2 separate regions of the Homo sapiens genome follow, and region 1 is linked to region 2. Evidence: promoter capture Hi-C in 16 types of primary human blood cells and fetal thymus (Javierre and others, 2016). All regions are on one chromosome and are shown on one strand. Each heading gives the region's core, a stretch centred on a gene start or on the middle of the fragment in contact. The rest is flanking DNA. Distances are from core to core; before and after follow the strand shown. Region 1 overlaps COL1A1 (collagen type I alpha 1 chain). Region 2 holds the start of PDK2 (pyruvate dehydrogenase kinase 2).

Region 1 (2,500 bases), core at 1-2,500, 100 kb before region 2:
CAGTTGGGGTTTAGTCTAGCTCAGAAACAAAGGGATGGCGGTGATGACCTCCCAAGGCTCTTTCTCAGATCTAGGTGGATGTCAAGGCTGTTCCACCCCCTCCACAGGTTCTTACCTTCTACCTCTTTCCTGCTTTAGGGTTTCAGTGGTTTGGATGGTGCCAAGGGAGATGCTGGTCCTGCTGGTCCTAAGGTAAGAGGCTGTCTGAACATCATGGTCCTCCACATCCCCAGAGTCCCACCATGAATGAATTTCTCACTCATTATTCTCTGATCTACAGGGTGAGCCTGGCAGCCCTGGTGAAAATGGAGCTCCTGGTCAGATGGTGAGTGTGCCCAGTTCCAGAGGGCAGGGATGGGGCAGGAGGCAGGGGCAAGATGGAGGCCTGGGGGAACAAGGCTGTCTCCCATCTCATCTGACTTCTCTTGGTTTGGTTGTCAGGGCCCCCGTGGCCTGCCTGGTGAGAGAGGTCGCCCTGGAGCCCCTGGCCCTGCTGTAAGTACTCCTGGCCCCTTGGGGGATCCCTGAGCTCTGGAAGGGGCTCCCCAGGAACTCTAGGGACTGGCCAGTGCTCAGTGGACTTAACGGGGCTTCCCCTCTCTCCTGCAGGGTGCTCGTGGAAATGATGGTGCTACTGGTGCTGCCGGGCCCCCTGTGAGTGTGGCCTGTAGGCCTCAGGGCCTGGGAGTGGGGAGGGGTCTCAGTATCTGCTCTTGGGGCTGACAATGGGAGCAGGTTATGTTGGTCTGAACCCCAGGACTTCCTCTGTCCCAGGGTGTGACTTGCAGCTGCCATCTCTTCCTTCTCGCTGACATCTCCATTTCATTCACAGGGTCCCACCGGCCCCGCTGGTCCTCCTGGCTTCCCTGGTGCTGTTGGTGCTAAGGTGAGACCCCCCACTCTCCTCTAAGCATGACCCTCATGGGCCAAGGGGTTCATGTCTCCCTGTTCCCCAAACCAAAGGGACCCAGAGTGGCAAGAGAGCAGCCCGTTCACTAACACCTTTGTCCTGGGTTCTCCGTCTCTGATCTTAGAGTCCTGATCATTGCTCTCCTGTCCCTGTCTCCCCTTCCTCCTGCCATCCCGAGAGGCAAGGTTGGGTTTCCCAGGGTGGCTTCTGATATGTCCTTTCTTCTGATTCAGGGTGAAGCTGGTCCCCAAGGGCCCCGAGGCTCTGAAGGTCCCCAGGGTGTGCGTGGTGAGCCTGGCCCCCCTGGCCCTGCTGGTGCTGCTGGCCCTGCTGTAAGTGTCCCCGACTCAGTGTCCCCTTTGCCACTTTCTAACCTCAGAGTCCTTGCCTGTTGCTGACACTCCTTTCTCTGTGCCACAGGGAAACCCTGGTGCTGATGGACAGCCTGGTGCTAAAGGTGCCAATGTAAGTATCCTGCCAGGCTTCAGTCCCACTCCTGCCGCCTGCAGCCTGCCTGCCCCTTTCCCTCTGCTCCTAGGCTCACGCCCTGGCTGTCTGCCTCCCACAGGGTGCTCCTGGTATTGCTGGTGCTCCTGGCTTCCCTGGTGCCCGAGGCCCCTCTGGACCCCAGGGCCCCGGCGGCCCTCCTGGTCCCAAGGGTAACAGCGTGAGTACCAAACTCTCCCTTCTGCCCACCCCATGCACTGGCTCCAGTGCGGCTCTCATCTGGGGAGCAGGAAGACGCAGGCCAACTGAGCGCCCCCGACTCTCAGCTCATCCTCTTCTCCCCCCTTGCAGGGTGAACCTGGTGCTCCTGGCAGCAAAGGAGACACTGGTGCTAAGGGAGAGCCTGTAAGTCTCCCCGCCATCCTTCTTGCAGCCCAGCCCACCCTGCCCTAGGAGCCCCCTGAGGGAAATCCAGAAAGGAAGAGGAGCCCCTAGTCTTCTGGGGGAGTCCCTGCCACACCCCCAGGAACCCCTGACACTGGAGGCCCAGCCTCAGCCGGCTCTGAGGCTGGCACAGGATGGCCCCTCACCACAGGCCGCCTCCTCCTCTCGGCCCTCTCCAGGGCCCTGTTGGTGTTCAAGGACCCCCTGGCCCTGCTGGAGAGGAAGGAAAGCGAGGAGCTCGAGGTGAACCCGGACCCACTGGCCTGCCCGGACCCCCTGGCGAGCGTGTAAGTGTCCCTGCCCGCCCCCTCCCGCTCCACCCTCATTGCCTGGCTGGTGCCTGTGTGTCGCGGAGTTCACTGGCCTCCTCTCCTCCTGCAGGGTGGACCTGGTAGCCGTGGTTTCCCTGGCGCAGATGGTGTTGCTGGTCCCAAGGTAACCTCTCCTTGCGGCCGGGGGGCTGACCCTGCCGCTCCCTGGGCATCTTCTTCCTCTTTTGGCCCGTGGCAAAGAGCCACAAACTTGAGACCCTAACTGTTCCTGTGACTTCCCCCAACCAGGGTCCCGCTGGTGAACGTGGTTCTCCTGGCCCTGCTGGCCCCAAAGGATCTCCTGGTGAAGCTGGTCGTCCCGGTGAAGCTGGTCTGCCTGGTGCCAAGGTGAGGCCCCAGGCTTTCAGCCTGGCTTGGCCAGGCCCTG
Region 2 (5,128 bases), core at 2,588-5,087:
GGAGAACAGATGGTACCTTCTGTCTCCTTCCCACCACTCCACACCACCCACGATGGGAAGTGTTGGTTGGCTCAGAGGTCCTGGACCTCCGAGAGGCAAGGCACAGCAAGGGGTGACCTGGTTGGGCTCCATGAAGATCAGGCTCTGTGCCTCATGCCTCCACCCCTTCCTCACAGCCCACACTAACAGCACAATCTCCAGAAAGTCAGTTCTCAGCTCCCTTAGCCAGGCCCCTTCCTGTCTCCACACCTTTGCCCAGGCTATTCCTTTAGCCTGGAATGCCCTTCCCTTCCTTTTAGCTCTCAGCTTGCCTAGGTACCCTGTAAGGTCCAGTGACAAGTCACCTCCTCTGCATGTCCATAGCAACTGCCCCACAACGTGTCATTCAACAAACATTCATGGTGCACCCACTACACCCCTAGCCTTGTGTGTACAACACTGCCCCTCACCATATCTCATTTAATTAGAATAAGCCCCATATCCACAGGTCCATGCATAGAAAACAGCGCTGGAAAGGCACCACTACATCTGACGAAACTGAACTGTGTTCGGTTAGGGGGTGGAGGGGAGTGGTTGGCATTTTCTTCTATCTACTATTGTGCATTTTGCAAGTGTCAAGTGAACCTGTTACACTTCCACAATGAGGGAAAAATATCAGTGTTCTTTTAAAATAATGTTTGGATTCCTAATTTAAATAAAACGAACTCTTTGGCAGCTCCCTGCTCCTAGCACTATGCTGGACTCAGTTCACCCTGCCTGGGTGAATATTATTTTTCCCTCAAGATCACAGGCCTCTGAGGGCAGCTGCTGTGACTTCGCATGGCTTTGAGCTCAGAATACATGTGGGCACGTGCTCCTCAGTCTACAGGGAAATCACAACTATATCATACTGCAAGTCCAAAAGAACCAGCCCAAGATTTCTGCAAGGGTGCCACCAAAGTCAATGAGGATTAGCTATTTACATGCCCAGTGACAAGGGACACCCTTGTTTATTCTTCACGTGACTGGCCTTTGGCTAATTTCATCCAGTTACTTAACTTGAGTTCTTGAGTGAACTCTGCTGAGCCTTTCCCTCTGTTCCTGCTGCAGTGCGCAATAAACGTTTGGTCTTTGCCCCTCCAAAGCTCTTCGGGAAGGTACTGTGCCATCCTTGTGTGTATCTGAGTATTTTCCAACATCCAAAACAGTCTGTCTTGCAGCTTGGGTTATATAATGTATTTGAAAACTTACTTCTTGTTTCTGCTTCCCAAAAAGTTACCCCCAAATAAATACTGCCTAACAGTTACTGGAGTTCCAGGTCTGGGCTGCTGGCTAATGCTGACATCAGCCTGAATTGGGGTTTTGGCTGTGAAAACCATGCTTTCCTAGGTGGATCCTGTGTTTCCAGAGAAAGGTGGGTGGTAAGAAGAGGGCTAGACACAGAGACTAGGAGCTTGACCTCAGTCCTGCTCTGGCCTCAGATTCCCACGTGACCCTAGGCAACTCCAAGCGCTTGGGGCTTTGGTGTCTCCTGTCTGTCCCCACCCCACCCTCAAAGCTGCTAAAAGCTTGGAGATGCCATCCCTGAGCCCAGGGACACTGGCGATGGAGTGGGAGGTGCAGGGACTGAGCCAGGGGTCTCACCAGCTCTGCACCAGCTGCACGGAGGGTGTGCTCAGCACTCGGTCGGGAAGCAGGTTGATCTCTTTCATGATGTTGGCCAGGCGCACAGGCAGCTCCTGCCTGAGGAAGGTGAAGGAGGTTTTCTCACAGGCATTGCTGGATCCTGGCAGGAGAAAGAGGGGTGAGCCACAGAGCCACAGACTATGAAAGCCAAAGGATGTCTCGGCCAGGTCAGCTAAACCCTTCATTAACAGGGGGCTCAGAGAGCAAGTGACCTGCCCGGGGCACACAGCAAGGCTCCCCATCCCCTGCAGGGCTCAAACACCTACACCCCATGCCTAACACTTCAGGAGGTGTCATCCTCTCCTCATCCCCAGCTGAACCCTGCTTGCCTTTAACCACAGTGGACAGGGCCACTCCTGGGCCCATTTGGAGCTGCCTCTGGCCTCAGTCACCTCACTTCTCTTTCCTTCCCTCCCAGCACACTCACTTTGAGGGGCTGATTCCAGGGGACAAAGGAGCCTGGGAAACCCATCCCTACCTAGGACTGGGCTCTGGCTGAGGGGGGCTATGGCTAGACCACCACTGCAGGCTCCCAGTGTTGTCTCTGGCCAGCCCACCTCACCCAGCCTGGCCTGAATGCCCATGTGGGGCTGCTGTGTCTTAATGCCCATCCATGGGGCAAACGGGCCTGAGAACAGGAGTCCAAATGCCTCGGTCCTTGTCTGGTGTCAAGATGGAAAGGGTGGGGGACCGAATATGGCCTTGGCCCAGGGTCAGGGGCCCTGGGTTCCAGTCCATCAGGCTCTGCTTCCAACTCTGTCACCCAGGCCATGCCATCATCCTTTTGAAGGTCTCAGTTTCCCCCATAGTACTACAAGTTGACCAAACTCTACTGTGAGCCCCTCACAGCTGTGATGTTTCTGTAATTAGGGTGCAGTTTGTGGGGACAGCTGCTGGGGGCTAGGGGTGGGCCCAGGAGGCTTTCCTACATGGGGGAGGCTCAAGACTCAGGCAGGGCAGGGGTGCAGGCAGACAAGTCCTGAGGAACAGGTGCCTTATGTCTCGGCTGCCACCTCTCTGTTCCCGTCCCATCATTGACGCAGCTGCAACCCAAGCTAGGCACTATCAACTCAACTCTTGAGAGACTGCCCCCCACCCCCAGTCCCCAGCTGGCACCATGGAAATACCACATAGACAGACAGGGCCCACACAATGCCCATTTCAGCTGCCACGTTGGCACAGCCTCCCTCCTGCCCCAGGGCCACCCCCAGGTTGCTGGTAGTGGGCGATCCTGACCTAGCAGCCCTGGGGCAGCCAAGGGAGGTATAGGCGGCTTGACTCCACATCACGGTGCCTGGGGCCCCTGCCCAGCTGGGGAGAGGCTGCCAGGCCGGAACAGATTTGATCTTCAAGTGTCCTTGCCCACTGGGGCAGCTAGGGTCCAGCTCCTTCTGTGGGTGGATGTCTACCAGTCAGGGCACTGTCTCCCAATGGCATCTTCTGAAAGAGCCCCCTTCCCCAACTGCCCCTGGCTTAATCTCACCCTCTGCCCAGGGGTGTCTGACCCTTCATGCCCAGTCCAGGTCTCTCTACAGATGGCTGCACCTCTAAACCCTGCCTCCTCACTCCCACCAGCAGACCCCCGGTTTCCTCTGGTGGGAGGAGGGGCCCCTACTCCTCCAGTCATGAGGACAACTCCCATTAACCCTTTCGCGTCTGGATACCACCCTACTCCCTTCCTGCAGTAACATCACAGCTTCACTGCCCCTTACTCTTCAAGACCCTTCATGAGGCCCACGAAGAAACCTCGGGACCGTCCTTGTAAATGCCCCCCATTCCCATCAGCAGCCCCGTCGAGAGGCCCCGGCCGGTTCCTGCTTCCCCATTAACTCTTTCCTGCCTGTACCTTTCCAAACAACCCTTCTCTGTCACTCGGGGCCTTTCTTCTCCTCCGTCCCCCTAGCCCCCGGCTGCCCCTCCCAGCGCCCCGCCGGCCTCCGCTGCCAGCCGCCTCCCGCCCACTCCGTACCGAAGTCCAGAAACTGCTTCATGGACAGCGGGGACGGGGAGAACTTGCTGAAGTGCTCTATGTACTTGGGCGCCCCTGCCAGGGACGCATTCTTCAGCAGCGCCCACACCCAGCGCATGGCTGCGGCGGCCGCGACTTTGGTTGTGGTCCCCGCGCGGGCAGCGCTCGCGCACCTTTCGGCCCAGCGACGCGGTTCGGCCGCCTCCTCCCTACCCTTGCCCTGGCGGGCATTCCAACGCCCAGCCAATCGGCTCGTCATGGCGCCTCGACGTCGCCAATGGCCACTCACAAACAACTCCGGGCGAACCAATAGCCTTCCGCCCCGGCACGTGGCTTCCCCCGGGCCCGCCCCCTTAACCCACGCTTTGCCGGGGCGGCCTGTTGTTTTGGGGAGGCCGCGCCGAGTTCCCACCTCCCCTGTGTTCACTCCTCCCTTTCCTCCGCGGGGCGAAGCCCGGGTTAACCCCTTCCTTCCCAGAGCCCCGCCAGCCCTTTCGCTTCCTCTTCCACGCCTGCCTTTCCCTTGCTACCCCCTCGCATCTCCTTCACCTGCAGGCTCCTTTTAACCCTTCCTTTCCAGAGTTGTCTAGGTAGCTTTCAACCAATCCCTTTTCTCCAACTCAAAGGTACCTGTTTCACCTGTCATGATCGTTACCTATCCTCCCTTAACGGGTCTTGGGGATTCCCAGTCCGGATGACAGTGACCCAGACTGCGAATATTTGCAAAATTCGGAACCAGGGTGCAAGCCTATACGAATCCGTCCTGTATATATGCAGCCCACCCGCTTCCACAAAGATCCAAGCGGCTCAGGAAAAGGCGGAGTTTGCTTTTCCAACTGAAAAACATCCAGAGTAAAAACCATCACTACTAGTGGCGGTGGAGGCAGCAGCTATCGTCCATGCCAGTTAACACTTTCATTTTATTATACAGCTCATCTGACCGAACATAAAGCCTTGGACATCTAGCGCGACCACCTGAGAAAGCCACCTCCTTCGCACCGGGCTTCCTTAGAGCAAGATCCCAGGAGGTGAAGTGTCTCTGGGAGGCCCGGAGCCCGTCCTTCATCAGCGGCCCAGCTTCTCTTGGAGAAAATGTGACGCGCCCTCTTGTGGCCGAATGTGGTATCTCCCATCGTGGGTTTAGGGCCCGACCCGCCACTTTGATGCTTTCTTTGCTCGGTGACATTAGCCTAATACGTGTTAGGCTTTATGCTGGGAACAGGGAACACAGACAGGATCAAGAAATGGCCTTTTTCCTCGATGATTTCATTTCTAAGTTTCAGAGATAGCTACATAAGTAAATAATTAGCTATAACTGAATGTGATTGTAATACAGACCTCACAGAGCAAAGCTTCACATATGGAAGGGCCTCTTAGCTGGATGAATAATAAGCTATATGCCAGGCACTGTTTACAGGCATTATCTCATTTAATTCTCTATTTTATTATTCTTAGCCTCATTTCATAGATAAGAAAACCGAGACTCAGGGATCA

Evidence for each region. Contacts are between HindIII fragments. The CHiCAGO score rates a contact against its expected background, and 5 or more counts as called.
Region 1: a fragment that was not itself captured here is called in contact with the fragment with the promoter of PDK2 in region 2 in 2 of 17 cell types (megakaryocytes and endothelial precursors); the score reaches 5.1 in megakaryocytes.

What each region holds. Positions count from the first base shown.
Region 1 is chr17:50,194,309-50,196,808 of GRCh38, reverse strand. It overlaps COL1A1 (collagen type I alpha 1 chain), which reads left to right. Exons shown (of 51, transcript NM_000088.4): 12 at 139-192; 13 at 281-325; 14 at 442-495; 15 at 610-654; 16 at 833-886; 17 at 1,144-1,242; 18 at 1,331-1,375; 19 at 1,479-1,577; 20 at 1,709-1,762; 21 at 1,981-2,088; 22 at 2,183-2,236; 23 at 2,362-2,460. Among named protein-coding and RNA genes, the nearest start is that of COL1A1, 6.1 kb to the left of the region's middle. RefSeq lists an enhancer at 1-468. The HindIII fragment of the contact is 9,239 bases long and covers 1-2,500 here.
Region 2 is chr17:50,094,060-50,099,187 of GRCh38, reverse strand. It overlaps PDK2 (pyruvate dehydrogenase kinase 2), which reads right to left and starts at 3,837. Exons shown (of 11, transcript NM_002611.5): 1 at 3,635-3,837; 2 at 1,624-1,765. The coding sequence starts at 3,752. LOC124904024 (a long non-coding RNA gene) reads right to left here. Exons shown (of 2, transcript XR_007065837.1): 2 at 4,535-4,846. PDK2-AS1 (PDK2 antisense RNA 1) reads left to right here. Exons shown (of 2, transcript XR_007065842.1): 2 at 1-1,290. RefSeq lists enhancers at 2,406-2,921, 2,922-3,437, 4,469-4,678 and a silencer at 3,969-4,088. The HindIII fragment of the contact is 3,439 bases long and covers 1,550-4,988 here.